Linked DNA regions of Homo sapiens: regions 1, 2, 3 and 5 are each linked to region 4. The links are contacts of gene promoters, found by promoter capture Hi-C in human tissues and cell types (Jung and others, 2019). All regions are on one chromosome and are shown on one strand. Each heading gives the region's core, a stretch centred on a gene start or on the middle of the fragment in contact. The rest is flanking DNA. Distances are from core to core; before and after follow the strand shown. Region 1 holds the start of HRAS (HRas proto-oncogene, GTPase). Region 2 overlaps CHID1 (chitinase domain containing 1). Region 3 holds the start of IRF7 (interferon regulatory factor 7). Region 4 holds the start of TALDO1 (transaldolase 1). Region 5 holds the start of AP2A2 (adaptor related protein complex 2 subunit alpha 2).

The links. The method cuts DNA at HindIII sites, captures the fragments that hold promoters and counts their contacts. A contact is called where the count stands out against the background at its distance.
Region 1: the fragment with the promoter of HRAS here is called in contact with the fragment with the promoter of TALDO1 in region 4 in 4 of the 25 tissues and cell types used here (dorsolateral prefrontal cortex, heart left ventricle, lymphoblastoid cells and 1 more).
Region 2: a fragment that was not itself captured here is called in contact with the fragment with the promoter of TALDO1 in region 4 in 3 of the 25 tissues and cell types used here (dorsolateral prefrontal cortex, lymphoblastoid cells and spleen).
Region 3: a contact is called between the fragment with the promoter of IRF7 here and the fragment with the promoter of TALDO1 in region 4, in 9 of the 25 tissues and cell types used here (H1 embryonic stem cells, IMR-90 fibroblasts, adrenal gland and 6 more).
Region 5: the fragment with the promoter of AP2A2 here is called in contact with the fragment with the promoter of TALDO1 in region 4 in 1 of the 25 tissues and cell types used here (spleen).

The regions. Positions count from the first base shown.
Region 1 is chr11:534,126-536,825 of GRCh38, reverse strand. HRAS (HRas proto-oncogene, GTPase) reads left to right here and starts at 1,250. Exons shown (of 6, transcript NM_005343.4): 1 at 1,250-1,410; 2 at 2,451-2,614. The coding sequence starts at 2,504. It also overlaps a transcript of LRRC56 not described here. RefSeq lists enhancers at 591-1,298, 1,320-2,176, 2,177-2,700 and a silencer at 2,154-2,313. The HindIII fragment of the contact is 24,710 bases long and covers 1-2,700 here.
Region 2 is chr11:907,110-909,809 of GRCh38, reverse strand. The region is part of intron 1 of CHID1 (chitinase domain containing 1); the gene reads left to right. Among named protein-coding and RNA genes, the nearest start is that of CHID1, 2.4 kb to the left of the region's middle. The HindIII fragment of the contact is 5,018 bases long and covers 1-2,700 here.
Region 3 is chr11:614,674-617,199 of GRCh38, reverse strand. IRF7 (interferon regulatory factor 7) reads left to right here and starts at 1,250. Exons shown (of 11, transcript NM_001572.5): 1 at 1,250-1,287; 2 at 1,553-1,855; 3 at 1,941-2,103; 4 at 2,193-2,403. The coding sequence starts at 1,836. It overlaps CDHR5 (cadherin related family member 5), which reads left to right. Exons shown (of 15, transcript NM_021924.5): 15 at 1-617. RefSeq lists an enhancer at 1,794-2,388. The HindIII fragment of the contact is 18,510 bases long and covers 1-2,526 here.
Region 4 is chr11:746,208-748,907 of GRCh38, reverse strand. It overlaps TALDO1 (transaldolase 1), which reads right to left and starts at 1,444. Exons shown (of 8, transcript NM_006755.2): 1 at 1,330-1,444. The coding sequence starts at 1,426. It overlaps LOC105376509 (a long non-coding RNA gene), which reads right to left. Exons shown (of 3, transcript XR_930962.3): 3 at 1,946-2,159. RefSeq lists silencers at 844-933, 1,034-1,323, 1,384-1,983 and enhancers at 1,163-1,811, 2,114-2,173, 1,812-2,460. The HindIII fragment of the contact is 22,782 bases long and covers 1-2,700 here.
Region 5 is chr11:924,552-927,251 of GRCh38, reverse strand. It overlaps AP2A2 (adaptor related protein complex 2 subunit alpha 2), which reads right to left and starts at 1,382. Exons shown (of 22, transcript NM_012305.4): 1 at 1,164-1,382. The coding sequence starts at 1,230. RefSeq lists a silencer at 1,031-1,570. The HindIII fragment of the contact is 16,179 bases long and covers 1-2,700 here.

The sequences.
Region 1 (2,700 bases), core at 1-2,500, 210 kb after region 4:
AGGCGGGCGCTGGACTGGGCAGAGGCAGGGTTTGCCTGACTGTAAAACGCCTTTTTTGTTTTGAGACGAAGTAGCGCTCTGTTGCCCAGTGCAGTGGCGCGATTTCGGCTCACCGCAACATCCGCCTCCCGGGTTCCAGCGATTCTCCTGCCTCAGCCTCCCGAGTAGCTGGGACTACAGGCGCGCGCCACTGCAGCCGACTAATTTTTTGTGTTTTTAGTAGAGACAGGGTTTCATCATGTTGGCCAGGCTGGTCTTGAACTCCTGACCTCAAGTAATCCACCCGCTTAGGCCTCCCGAAGTGCTGGGATTATAGGCGTGAGCCACCGCGCCCGGCCCTTTTTGTTTTTTAATGAGGATGTATTTCTGATTCCTTTGCAATTTTAAAAAATGTTAAAAACATGTCTTTTTGGGTTTGAAAGAGCTAGGATGTGCGTCTATGTGCTTGGGGTGAGCCCTGGGCACTTCGCTCCCCTGTGGCAACTTGTGGGTACGGTTTAACTGGACCACGCTGAGCTTCTGCAGCGTTGGAACCTCAAGTTTGGGGGGACTGGGCGGGCAGGGTCGCCTGCCACGCAGGCCCGAGAAAGAGGAGAGTGGTGGAGGGGGCGTTCTCACGCCTGGCCCCAGGGCACACGGCTGCGCCCGCCGCCCGGAACCCCACCGGGGCTGCAAGCGTCCTCGGGGTGGGTTGCGGTGGGAGTAGGGGAGCTGGGGTGCGTGGTGGTAGGTGGGGTGCGCGGCCGCTCCACCTGCGCGGAAGGGCAGCCGGGCAACCGGACCCCGCGGCCACCCGGGGGCCCCCAGCTCCGAGCATCCCGCCTTGGTCCCGGCGGATCCCAGCCTTTCCCCAGCCCGTAGCCCCGGGACCTCCGCGGTGGGCGGCGCCGCGCTGCCGGCGCAGGGAGGGCCTCTGGTGCACCGGCACCGCTGAGTCGGGTTCTCTCGCCGGCCTGTTCCCGGGAGAGCCCGGGGCCCTGCTCGGAGATGCCGCCCCGGGCCCCCAGACACCGGCTCCCTGGCCTTCCTCGAGCAACCCCGAGCTCGGCTCCGGTCTCCAGCCAAGCCCAACCCCGAGAGGCCGCGGCCCTACTGGCTCCGCCTCCCGCGTTGCTCCCGGAAGCCCCGCCCGACCGCGGCTCCTGACAGACGGGCCGCTCAGCCAACCGGGGTGGGGCGGGGCCCGATGGCGCGCAGCCAATGGTAGGCCGCGCCTGGCAGACGGACGGGCGCGGGGCGGGGCGTGCGCAGGCCCGCCCGAGTCTCCGCCGCCCGTGCCCTGCGCCCGCAACCCGAGCCGCACCCGCCGCGGACGGAGCCCATGCGCGGGGCGAACCGCGCGCCCCCGCCCCCGCCCCGCCCCGGCCTCGGCCCCGGCCCTGGCCCCGGGGGCAGTCGCGCCTGTGAACGGTGAGTGCGGGCAGGGATCGGCCGGGCCGCGCGCCCTCCTCGCCCCCAGGCGGCAGCAATACGCGCGGCGCGGGCCGGGGGCGCGGGGCCGGCGGGCGTAAGCGGCGGCGGCGGCGGCGGCGGCGGGTGGGTGGGGCCGGGCGGGGCCCGCGGGCACAGGTGAGCGGGCGTCGGGGGCTGCGGCGGGCGGGGGCCCCTTCCTCCCTGGGGCCTGCGGGAATCCGGGCCCCACCCGTGGCCTCGCGCTGGGCACGGTCCCCACGCCGGCGTACCCGGGAGCCTCGGGCCCGGCGCCCTCACACCCGGGGGCGTCTGGGAGGAGGCGGCCGCGGCCACGGCACGCCCGGGCACCCCCGATTCAGCATCACAGGTCGCGGACCAGGCCGGGGGCCTCAGCCCCAGTGCCTTTTCCCTCTCCGGGTCTCCCGCGCCGCTTCTCGGCCCCTTCCTGTCGCTCAGTCCCTGCTTCCCAGGAGCTCCTCTGTCTTCTCCAGCTTTCTGTGGCTGAAAGATGCCCCCGGTTCCCCGCCGGGGGTGCGGGGCGCTGCCCGGGTCTGCCCTCCCCTCGGCGGCGCCTAGTACGCAGTAGGCGCTCAGCAAATACTTGTCGGAGGCACCAGCGCCGCGGGGCCTGCAGGCTGGCACTAGCCTGCCCGGGCACGCCGTGGCGCGCTCCGCCGTGGCCAGACCTGTTCTGGAGGACGGTAACCTCAGCCCTCGGGCGCCTCCCTTTAGCCTTTCTGCCGACCCAGCAGCTTCTAATTTGGGTGCGTGGTTGAGAGCGCTCAGCTGTCAGCCCTGCCTTTGAGGGCTGGGTCCCTTTTCCCATCACTGGGTCATTAAGAGCAAGTGGGGGCGAGGCGACAGCCCTCCCGCACGCTGGGTTGCAGCTGCACAGGTAGGCACGCTGCAGTCCTTGCTGCCTGGCGTTGGGGCCCAGGGACCGCTGTGGGTTTGCCCTTCAGATGGCCCTGCCAGCAGCTGCCCTGTGGGGCCTGGGGCTGGGCCTGGGCCTGGCTGAGCAGGGCCCTCCTTGGCAGGTGGGGCAGGAGACCCTGTAGGAGGACCCCGGGCCGCAGGCCCCTGAGGAGCGATGACGGAATATAAGCTGGTGGTGGTGGGCGCCGGCGGTGTGGGCAAGAGTGCGCTGACCATCCAGCTGATCCAGAACCATTTTGTGGACGAATACGACCCCACTATAGAGGTGAGCCTGGCGCCGCCGTCCAGGTGCCAGCAGCTGCTGCGGGCGAGCCCAGGACACAGCCAGGATAGGGCTGGCTGCAGCCCCTG
Region 2 (2,700 bases), core at 141-2,640, 160 kb before region 4:
GACCAGGTCTGGCTGTGTTGCCAAAACCAGTCAAAAACTCCTGGCCTCCCAAAGTGCTAGGATCACAGGCCAGAGCCGCCATGCACCAGTTAGTTCTTCAAAACACAACAGAACAGGAGTTGTCAGTGCGTCCATCGCAGAATAGAGTTAGCTCTGATTGGCTGCTGTCGCTCTACACATGTACACACATGCACAACACATGTGCACACATGACATACACGTGTGCTGGGCTGTGACGTAAAGTGCATTTCTTACTGCTGGTCTCCATGAAAAGCATTGGAAAGCCCCTGCTGTGACTCCCATCATTTCCATCAACACCACCGAGGAGGTCCTGGACCTACGGACTGGGAGCGCAGGAAAGTGGGAGCAGTAGCGCTCCACCTTATCTTGTTACAGAGCGGTTTCTGGGACCCCTTTGGGTGACCAGGGTCGGGGCCTGTGCCTCTTCATAACACAACACATTCCCTTTGTGTGCGGGGCCGTTCTGCCCAAGGGAAGGTCATTGGCATTTGGGGAAGAAACGGTTTGATGCAGGAACACAGTGTGTGTGAACCTGGGAGTCTGTGTTATGTGAAGAGCATGATGGAGAGTGTCCTCACGGGCCTCAGAGCCGAGCGGCCGGTGAGCAGTGGGGAGCGGGAGAGGTACCAAAGCCCAGACAAGGGCCTGGTTGCAGTGTGAGCACCCCTCACACATCACACACACCATCTCCCTGGGGCAGTTGTCTGGAAAGTTCCATGGCAAGTCAAAGAAGCAGCCCAGCATTTGTGAGCAGCCTGTATCCAAGCACTCCATCACAGAGCGGGCAAGTTAAGCGCGAGTGGACAGAGGCAGTACCCTGGCCTTGTGTTCAGTTAGGTTCTCCTAGTGTCCCCTCTGCTGGACACATGCTGGCAGGACTGTCTTCCTCTTCCACCCTTTCCTCTTCCTTCCCTGAAGTGTGAAATCACAGGTTGGGGGGCAGGGAGGTCATAGGCAGAGGGGCCACTAGGTGGGTGGACAGTGGCCCTGTTTCAAATCTGCAGGACGGCAGGTAGGGGCAGAGACCCAGCCCTATAGTGGTTGGTCACTGGGTACCTGAGTGTGCCCTCCAGTTACTCCTGGGCCAGTCCCCTGGAGAACCACCGTTTGGTTTTTCATTCCTTTCCTTCCTCCCTGACCCAGATTTCCACCCAGAAGACAGAGAAGGAGCCAGTGGTCATGGAATGGGCTGGGGTCAAAGACTGGGTGCCTGGGAGCTGAGGCAGCCACCGTTTCAGCCTGGCCAGGCAAGTGATTCTGGGCCGTCTTCCCTGTGCCATGGCCAGAACCCTCCCCACCTTCCCTGGGGCTGTTGCTGACTCAGACCAAGCCTCAGCTGCAGCAGAAAGATAGTGGGGCTAAGGGGAGGTGGCAGCAGGCTGCTGCCCTTGGTTCTGATTCTGGGATGTATCACTGAGGAGAGGGGCTGGAGAGGTTGATCGGGGCAGAGGGTGGTGATCTGTGCCTGGGCCTTCTTATTCCCCCTGCACAGCCTCTCGGAACTGCCGTGGCTGTTCAAGCACTCACTGCCTTTGCCTGTGGCTCCATGTACTGGGTGCTGCTGTGCTTGCCCTGTGAGTTCCCTTCCTAACTCCCCATAAGCCTGCAGGTCAGGCTGTCTTGTGGCTCCCTGCCTCCTAGGTGGGGGAGCTTCACTGGTTGATCTTGCTCCAGGAGCGTGTTCTTTCTATGCAGGTGTGTTGTGGGTGTATTGGGTACCAAAGCATGCAAACTCCCTGCCTGGGGGTAGCCACAGTCTCCTCAGTCTGCACCAGGAGCACCAGTCTCACCCAGGGAAGAGACAGGGCAAAGTGGGGCAGCGTGTGCCTCTGCAGAAGAAAGCAGGTCAAGGGGACGGTTTCAGAGGAAGTGAAAACAGGTTCCTGGCCAGGGAGTCTTTTGGGTAGGAGGGTAGGCACTGTGGTAGGCCTGGCTCTGGCAGCATCTTCTGACAGGTGCACCTGCCTGGCTGGGGTTCCTGGAGCCTCTTGGGCCTGAGCTCCCATATACTCAGGAGCCTGTGACCCAAGGGGAAGGCCATGTGCCCAGCTGCTGGGTAGTGAGTTGGGCTGAGCTCCCCACCTGTCAGGTATCTGCCTCTGCCCAGGCTGTGTGGGCCTCTCAGCTGGTCTAGAGGGGTCTGTGCTGCCAGAGCTGTGAAACTAGCCAAGAGCTTCTTCCCAGCAGTGTCCCAAAGCTTCATGAAGGACTAACAGTCTGGCTGGGCTATGGTGGTGGTTCAGCTCCCACCGCCGCTGCCCCCAACCCCAGTGAAAGATAGAAAGTAGAATCACTTTTTTTTTTTTTTTAAAGACAGTCTCGCACCGTCGCCCAGGCTGGAGTGCACTGGCACTATCTCGGCTCACTGCGAACTCCACCTCCTGGATTCACACCATTCTCCTGCTTCAGCCTCTCGAATAGCTGGGACTACAGGCGCCTGCCACCATGCCTGGCTAATTTTTTGTATTTTTAGCAGAGATGGGGTTTCACCGTGTTAGCCAGGATGGTCTCGATCTCCTGACCTCGTGATCTGCCCGCTTCGGCCTCCCAAAGTGCTGGGATTACAGGCGTGAGCCACCGCGCCCGGCCGGAAAGTAGAATCACTTTTGTTGGTGGCCCCTAGAACCTGAAAGTGAACAGTGTAATAAAAGTTTAGTGCAGGAAGACCAGAAGATACAG
Region 3 (2,526 bases), core at 1-2,500, 130 kb after region 4:
CCCCTGTCGTCATTAGCGCTTGAGCCCAGGTGTGCAGATGAGGCGGTGGGTCTGGCCACGCTGTCCCCACCCCAAGGCTGCAGCACTTCCCGTAAACCACCTGCAGTGCCCGCCGCCTTCCCGAGGCTCTGTGCCAGCTAGTCTGGGAAGTTCCTCTCCCGCTCTAACCACAGCCCGAGGGGGGCTCCCCTCCCCCGACCTGCACCGGAGATCTCAGGCACCCGGCTCATCTCAGACCTCCCGCTCCCGACCCTACACAGAGATTGCCTGGGGAGGCTGAGGAGCCGATGCAAACCCCCAAGGCGACGCACTTGGGAGCCGGTGGTCTCAAACACCTGCCGGGGGTCCTAGTCCCCTTCTGAAATCTACATGCTTGGGTTGGAGCGCAGCAGTAAACACCCTGCCCAGTGACCTGGACTGAGGCGCGCTGGGGGTGGGTGCGCCGTGTGGCCTGAGCAGGAGCCAGACCAGGAGGCCTAGGGGTGAGAGACACATTCCCCTCGCTGCTCCCAAAGCCAGAGCCCAGGCTGGGCGCCCATGCCCAGAACCATCAAGGGATCCCTTGCGGCTTGTCAGCACTTTCCCTAATGGAAATACACCATTAATTCCTTTCCAAATGTTTTAATTGTGAGAGTATCTGATATTCTTGACTGAACAATGTAAAAAACCCAAAGGGGGCTGCGCACGGCGGCTCTCGCCTAAATCCCAGCACTTTGGGAGGCCGAGGTGGGCAGATCACCTGAGGTCGGGAGTTCGACACCAGCCTGACCAACATAGAGAAACCCCGTCTCTACTAAAAATACAAAATTAGCCGGGCGTGGTGGTTCATGCCTGTAATCCCAGCTACTCGGGAGGCTTAGGTAGGAGAATCACTTGAACCCGGGAGGCGGAGGTTGTGGTGGGCCAAGATTGTGCCACCGCACTCCAGCCTGGGTAACAAAAGCGAAACTCCATCTCAAAAAAAGAAACGCAAACGGTGCAGCTGCCCCTTTTTCGAGGCACGTCCACCTCCCATTACCCACTTCCTTTTTTTTTTGAGACTGAGTCTTGCTCTGTCCCCTGGGCTGTAGTGGAGTGGCTCCATCTCGGCTCACTGCAGCCACTCCCAACGCCCTCCACTCCTCCCTACTCCGCGCTGGCCGGGGCGGGGTTCCGCTGGTCGCATCCAATAATAAGAACAGGCGGCGCGCGCCCTTCCCGGAAACTCCCGCCTGGCCACCATAAAAGCGCCGGCCCTCCGCTTCCCCGCGAGACGAAACTTCCCGTCCCGGCGGCTCTGGCACCCAGGTACTGGGGACCCCAGACCCACGCGGTGCAGGCCGGGAGCGAGAGCCTCCGTGGGGGCTCCGTGACCCCGGAGGGGTAGAGCCAAGAGCTGGGGGAGCCTGAGAGATGAGGGTCGGGCGGGGAGGGAGGCGGAGGCGGAGGCGGGGTTCCGCGGAGCTGAGAACCGGACGGGGTGGGATCGAGGAGGGTGCGAAGCGCCACTGTTTAGGTTTCGCTTTCCCGGGAGCCTGACCCGCCCCTGACGTCGCCTTTCCCGTCTCCGCAGGGTCCGGCCTGCGCCTTCCCGCCAGGCCTGGACACTGGTTCAACACCTGTGACTTCATGTGTGCGCGCCGGCCACACCTGCAGTCACACCTGTAGCCCCCTCTGCCAAGAGATCCATACCGAGGCAGCGTCGGTGGCTACAAGCCCTCAGTCCACACCTGTGGACACCTGTGACACCTGGCCACACGACCTGTGGCCGCGGCCTGGCGTCTGCTGCGACAGGAGCCCTTACCTCCCCTGTTATAACACCTGACCGCCACCTAACTGCCCCTGCAGAAGGAGCAATGGCCTTGGCTCCTGAGAGGTAAGAGCCCGGCCCACCCTCTCCAGATGCCAGTCCCCGAGCGCCCTGCAGCCGGCCCTGACTCTCCGCGGCCGGGCACCCGCAGGGCAGCCCCACGCGTGCTGTTCGGAGAGTGGCTCCTTGGAGAGATCAGCAGCGGCTGCTATGAGGGGCTGCAGTGGCTGGACGAGGCCCGCACCTGTTTCCGCGTGCCCTGGAAGCACTTCGCGCGCAAGGACCTGAGCGAGGCCGACGCGCGCATCTTCAAGGTGGGGACCCCAGCCCCGCCCCGCCCCGGGTGGGAGAGCCCGCCTAGGACCCCGCGGGCCCGGCACACGTGTTCTGTCCCCCTCTTCAGGCCTGGGCTGTGGCCCGCGGCAGGTGGCCGCCTAGCAGCAGGGGAGGTGGCCCGCCCCCCGAGGCTGAGACTGCGGAGCGCGCCGGCTGGAAAACCAACTTCCGCTGCGCACTGCGCAGCACGCGTCGCTTCGTGATGCTGCGGGATAACTCGGGGGACCCGGCCGACCCGCACAAGGTGTACGCGCTCAGCCGGGAGCTGTGCTGGCGAGGTGAGCGACGCCGGCTGCCAAGGGCGTTGGCATTCGTCCTGCTTGGGCAAAGGGGAACATTCTCTGGGTCAGATTTGTGGTTTTAGAAGCTGTTCTGGGAGAGGCTGCCAGCAGGCCCAGGAC
Region 4 (2,700 bases), core at 195-2,694:
TCTCAGTGCTAAGAAGGGAAAAAACTGAGCAGCAGAAAAATGTGTAGCCCCTTTTCTGGAGCTTTCTTTCTTATGAAGAGAGGTCTGGACTACAACGGGGGGGCTGTGTGTGTGAGGGATTCACAGCTCTAGCTTTGGATCTCCCAAAGAGGGGTCCGGAGCAGACTGTGGCACCCCAAGCCAGTCACTGAATCCCCATATTTTATGGTTAAGCAGCCAAACATGCCAATTCACTCTCTAGGCTCTGCTAGATAAACAATGCCCTTACTCAGTTACCAAAGAGGAATTAAAGCCTGTTTCTCAAGTCACCATGAGAAAGCAGAAAAGAGAGGAAGTCACTTCCGTATTAGGTGCTCGCAGCATTCATCCATGAAGCGTTTCATGATTTTCTTAAAAAATATTACTTGTTCTCAACAAAACATAGACACAAGGCTCGTCTACTCTGCACTGCAGAGGACAGAAGAGCTAAGTATTAATAAATAATCCTTCTTTGTATTTTCCAAGTTCTCTCCAATGTAAACAACTCAAGCCCAGGAAAATCCAGTATTTAACAGTGTACCAACCCTGTGCTTTCATGGGCACCGGCTTTTACCCACCCGGTGCGTCTGGCGGTGGCTGTCCAGCAGGCCGGGCACCTGCCGCCCACGGAGTTGTCCCACTGGGCACCGCAGGGCTCAAGGGCGATGGCAGCACTGGCAGCTTCTGGTCAGAGCTAGCTGATGTCCCCGCTCTGCAGACATCAGCCCAACAAAATTGCATCTCGCTGACCACAAACTGGCCACGTGGAAGTCAGCTCGAAGCTCTACCCTGAATCTCTCCTGAACTCAAAGGCTCTGAAAGCTGCCTCGACCCATGAAGGTGCACAGAGGGGCTCCCGCGGGCTGCCCACAGCCCGTCCCGGGTGCGGGGTCTGAGGGCGCAGCCGACCCCACCCTGGGCGGAGGGCGAGGCTGGGGCTCCGGCTTCGTGCCCCACGGCTCGCAAGGACCCGTCAGTACCGCCCGCACCGCTGACCCCAGCACCGAGCCCCTCACGGCTGACCCCAGCTCCTCACGGCTGCCCCCGGCCCTGCTCCCTCACGGCCGACCCGGGCCCCGTTCCCCTCACGGTCGCCGCTGGCCCTGCGCCTCTCACGGCCGACCCGGGCCCCGCTCCCCTCACGGCTGTCCCTGGCCCCAACATCCGGCACCTGCGCTCATTCCTCCCGGAACGAGCCGCCCGGGGCACCGCCACCCGGTCCGCGTCCCGGAACGGGAGACCCGGGGAAATCGGGGCGCCGGGGCCTCTGGAGGGCGCTTGCGCCGCGCCCGGGCTCCGCGCCGTCCTCACCGTGGAAGTCGCCCGTGTCGGCCACCACGGTGGTGAACTGCTTGAGCTGGTCCAGCGCGGACTCCATCCTCTGACGCTTCACGGGTGAGCTCGACATAGCAAGACCGAGGGGTCTGCGGCGGCGGCGGCGGCGACGGGACGGGCGCGCGGACGGCCCACAATGCCCCGCGGGCGGCTGCCAATCGGAAAGCGGCGCGGGAGGGCGAGGCCCGCTGGTCCCTGCGCGCCTGGACGAAGCCCCGCCCCCGGGGACGAAGCCCGAGCGCCACTGCCGGCCGCGCACCGCAGCTGCGGATCCTACAGGCTGGGTCTCCCCAGGTCCTCAGCAGCCGCCGCGGACGGGCCCGGGAAAACACCTGCACGACACGGGGCGGCTGGGCCTCGCCTCCTTCCTGCCCCGCGGGACGCACCGGGAGGGCTGGAGGAGATGGACCTGGCCCGGGTGCCGACTCTGCGGGGCTGAACCCGCCAGGGCCGAACCCGGCGATGCAGGATCCATGGTGGGGCCAGGACTGGGGTCGGGGGCCGCTGCAGGAAGCAGGGGAGGGAGCGGCGGGGGACGCCCTGCGGGTGCAGGAGGCAGAGCAGGGGGCGGCTGCAGAGCCCGGGCGCCGGACGCGGCGGGGAACCTGCTTCTGGGAATCTGTTCCCCTGAGTCCTAAGCCCAGAGGTGTCCGGGGGACCGAACGGCGAGGCAGGCGTAGGAGGCCCAGCTGCCCTGCTTCTTACCATCGCTGACTTGCAGAGTTCCTTGTATATTCTGATCAAGTCTCTGTCGCTTGTGTCTGCGTTGCAGACACTGTAACCGCCCCATGGGTTCGCCTTGCCAGCTGCCGGGACAGAGTCTATTGTCAAGACAGGGGAATTGCAATAGAGAAAGCATAATTCACACAGAGCCGATTGTTCGGGAGACCAGAGTTTTATTCCTCAAATCAGTCTCCCCAAAACTCGGGGATCCCAGTATTTAAGAATAATTTGGTGGGTAGGGGGCCAGTGAGTCAGAAGTGCTGACTGGTCAGCTAGGGATGAAATCACAGGGAGTCGAAGCTGTCCGCTTATGCTGAGTCAGTCCCTGGGTAGAGGCCACACAACTGGTTGGCAGGTCCAGGTGGGGCCATCCGGTTGTCAGAAATGCAAAAACCTGAAAAGACTTTTTTTTTTTTTTGAGACGGAATCTCGCCCTTGTTGCCCAGGCTGGAGTGCAGTGGCGCGATCTTGGCTAACTACAACCTCCGCCTCCCGGGTTCGAGCGATTTTCCTGCCTCAGCCTCCCGAGTAGCTGGAATTACAGGCGCTCACCACCACGCCCGGCTAATTTTTGTATTTTTAGTACAGACGGGGTTTCATCATGTTGGCCAGCATGGTCTCGAT
Region 5 (2,700 bases), core at 133-2,632, 180 kb before region 4:
CATCTCTACAAAAAACACGAAAATCAGCCAGGCATGGTGGTGGTGCACGCTTGTAGTCCCAGTGACTCCGGAGGCTGAGGTGGTAGGATCACTTGAGGTGGGAGGTTGAGTGCGCCGTGATGGAACTACTGCGCTCCAGCCTGAGAGCCAGAGCAAGACCCTGTCTCAAAAAAAAGAAAAACAAAAATCATGAAGTCAACTATTTGCTGGATAACAAGGAAAAAAATCAACGCAGCAGACAGGAAACTGGCTTTGTTTCTCCCTCAAATTAAATAAGGAGATGGCCTCTGAAAGCCAAGAGGAGGTTCTGCACACCAAAGTCAAATTAATTGGTGGACCGGTGCACCCACCCAGCCACCCTGCACATCCTTCTAACAGGCCCAGCCTTCCTGGCTTGTTTAACGGTTTGGTGTGGATTTTTCCCACCCCGAGGGGACAGGCACGGGGCTGAGAACGAGGTCTGTGATTGGAGCAGCAGGCAGCGAGGCCATCCCACACCCCGACTGCTGCTCGTGTCCAGATTCCCTCCGGGAATGAGTCATTTTAATCGTCGTAGGTGAGATCTAATCAGGGGTTAATAAGCCTCCAGAACCCAGGTCACAAAGCTGTTTCCTGGGAAGACACTGATTTCCAGATTTCTGCTCCCAAAGCTAAAATCCACGCCGTTTTGGAAAACGCTGGGTTAAACGCTCCAGTACTAGAAAGACCAAGGTGACATCATGCTGGGGAGGGGCGTCTTGGCCCGGAACCCCCTTGGTGGTGCCGCAGCCCCCCGCACGGACCAGCAAACGGGAGTGGAGATGTGGATGAAGGGCCGTGCCCTAAACCCCTAGACCCCGCACCCCTAGACCCTGGACACCCCACCCCGCACCCCCAGACCCAGGGCCCCGCTCTGCATCCTGACCCGCACCCCCATACCCGATACCCCAAGACTCTGAGCGCCGCCCGCACCCCCAGACCCTGGACCCCCACCCCGCACCCTGGCCCCCACCCCCAGACCCGGTACCCCAAGACCCCGAGCGCCGCCCGCACCCTCAGGCCCCGGGCCCCGCCCGCATCCCAGCCTGCACCCCCGCCTCGAGGCCCCGCCCCGGGCCTCCGCTCCCAGACCCCGTCTCCGCCGGCGGCCCCGGCCCCGGCCCCACGCCGCCCCCGCCACTCACAGTTGCGGATATCCGAGATGAAGACCGCCAGGCCCCGCATCCCGTCCCCCTTGGACACGGCCGGCATCTTCCGACGCTCGGGAGCGGCCTCGGCTGGCGGACCCGGGCGGAGGAGCGCGGGGAGCGGGAAGCGGGGAGTGCGGTCGCCGTCACCGCCGCGGAGGAGCCGCCGGGGAGCCGCCTAACCACGGCCGCCTCAGGGTCCCAGCGCCGCTTTCTGGGCCGCCGCGCGCGCGCACGTACGGCGCCCGCACCAGCACGCACGCGCACGCACGCGAGCGACGACGGACGGCGGCCGGGGCGGGTGTCGCGTGAGGCAGCGCGCGCGCGTCCGCGGCACGGGGGCGAGCCGGTCGAGGCAGGCGCGGGGGCGCCCCCTGCAGGCGGACACCATGGACGGAGCCGCTGAAGCCACGCGTTCGCGTCCCGGGGCCGCGCCAAGCTGGCGATGCCGCCCGCGTCCCCCACGGGAAGGGCGTGGGTCCGGGCGGGAACCCGCGTGTGCAGCGGGCCGCCTCTGTCGTTGTTGGTGGTCACTGCAAAAGAGGCGGCCACGCAGGCACACGCGTACGGCCTCGTCCTGGGCCTCGGCCCCGCTAGCTTGCCCCGAGCAGTCTCCGTTTTCTTACTTGGAATAAACGACCTGTGAGCGCTGGGCGGCGGGGCAGCTCCGAGGCCAGGGCCTTGTTTGTTCCGCGGGGGCCGGGGCGGGAGGGCGGCGCCGGGAGGAAGCTGGGGCTCCAGGCGAAGGGGTCACAGCCGCTGGACGGCCTTTGGCGAGGAAACCCTCCCCTAGCACGGTATCCTGAGACGGTGGGGCTGGCCCGCCCCTCCTGCCGCCCTGAGCCGCCAGGGCCACATCTCTTGCGGTCCCTGAGCTGGGGGCGAGGCAGGCCCCGTGCCCGACCCAGCCCAGGGTCTGTGTGGCAGCCCAGGTGCCCCCTCCACATCACCTGGGCCTGCAGAGAAACAACCACCCACCCCACCCCAGTGACAGCGGCCGGGGGCGGCAGCCCCTGCGGAATCTAGTCCCTCGGCGGCGCCAGGACTTTTGGCCACTGTTGCCAGGGCCCCCTCTGCTCCCCAGCCCTCTGCACCACTGCAAGCTGGAGGCCTAGGCCCACCCCTGTGGACACATCGCAAGGGAGGACCTGCTGGGCCAGGCTGCACAGCTCCAGGTCCCGGCCAGGAAGAGACCCCAGGGAGTGGGGAAGCAGATGGCCCTGCCTCACTGTCCTTCCCAGAGCCAGATGGCTTTGAACAGGAAGCTCCCTCCTGCTGCAGTGGGGGGATCTGGACCCTGTACCTGGAACTGGCCCAGACCCACCAGCCAGGGCTTTGTCCCCACCCTGGCTCACTTCCGCAGCCCCAGATGAGAGCTTAGCCCTGGTGGAGCCCGGCCAGGAGGAGGGCACAGGACCCATGCCCCTCCCCAATGAACCGGGTGCCGCACCCAGGCTCTGGGCCTCCAGAACTCCTGGGGAAAACCAAGATCTGTGACAGACCCCAGTCAGCATAAGGCAACCAAGTCCATCAC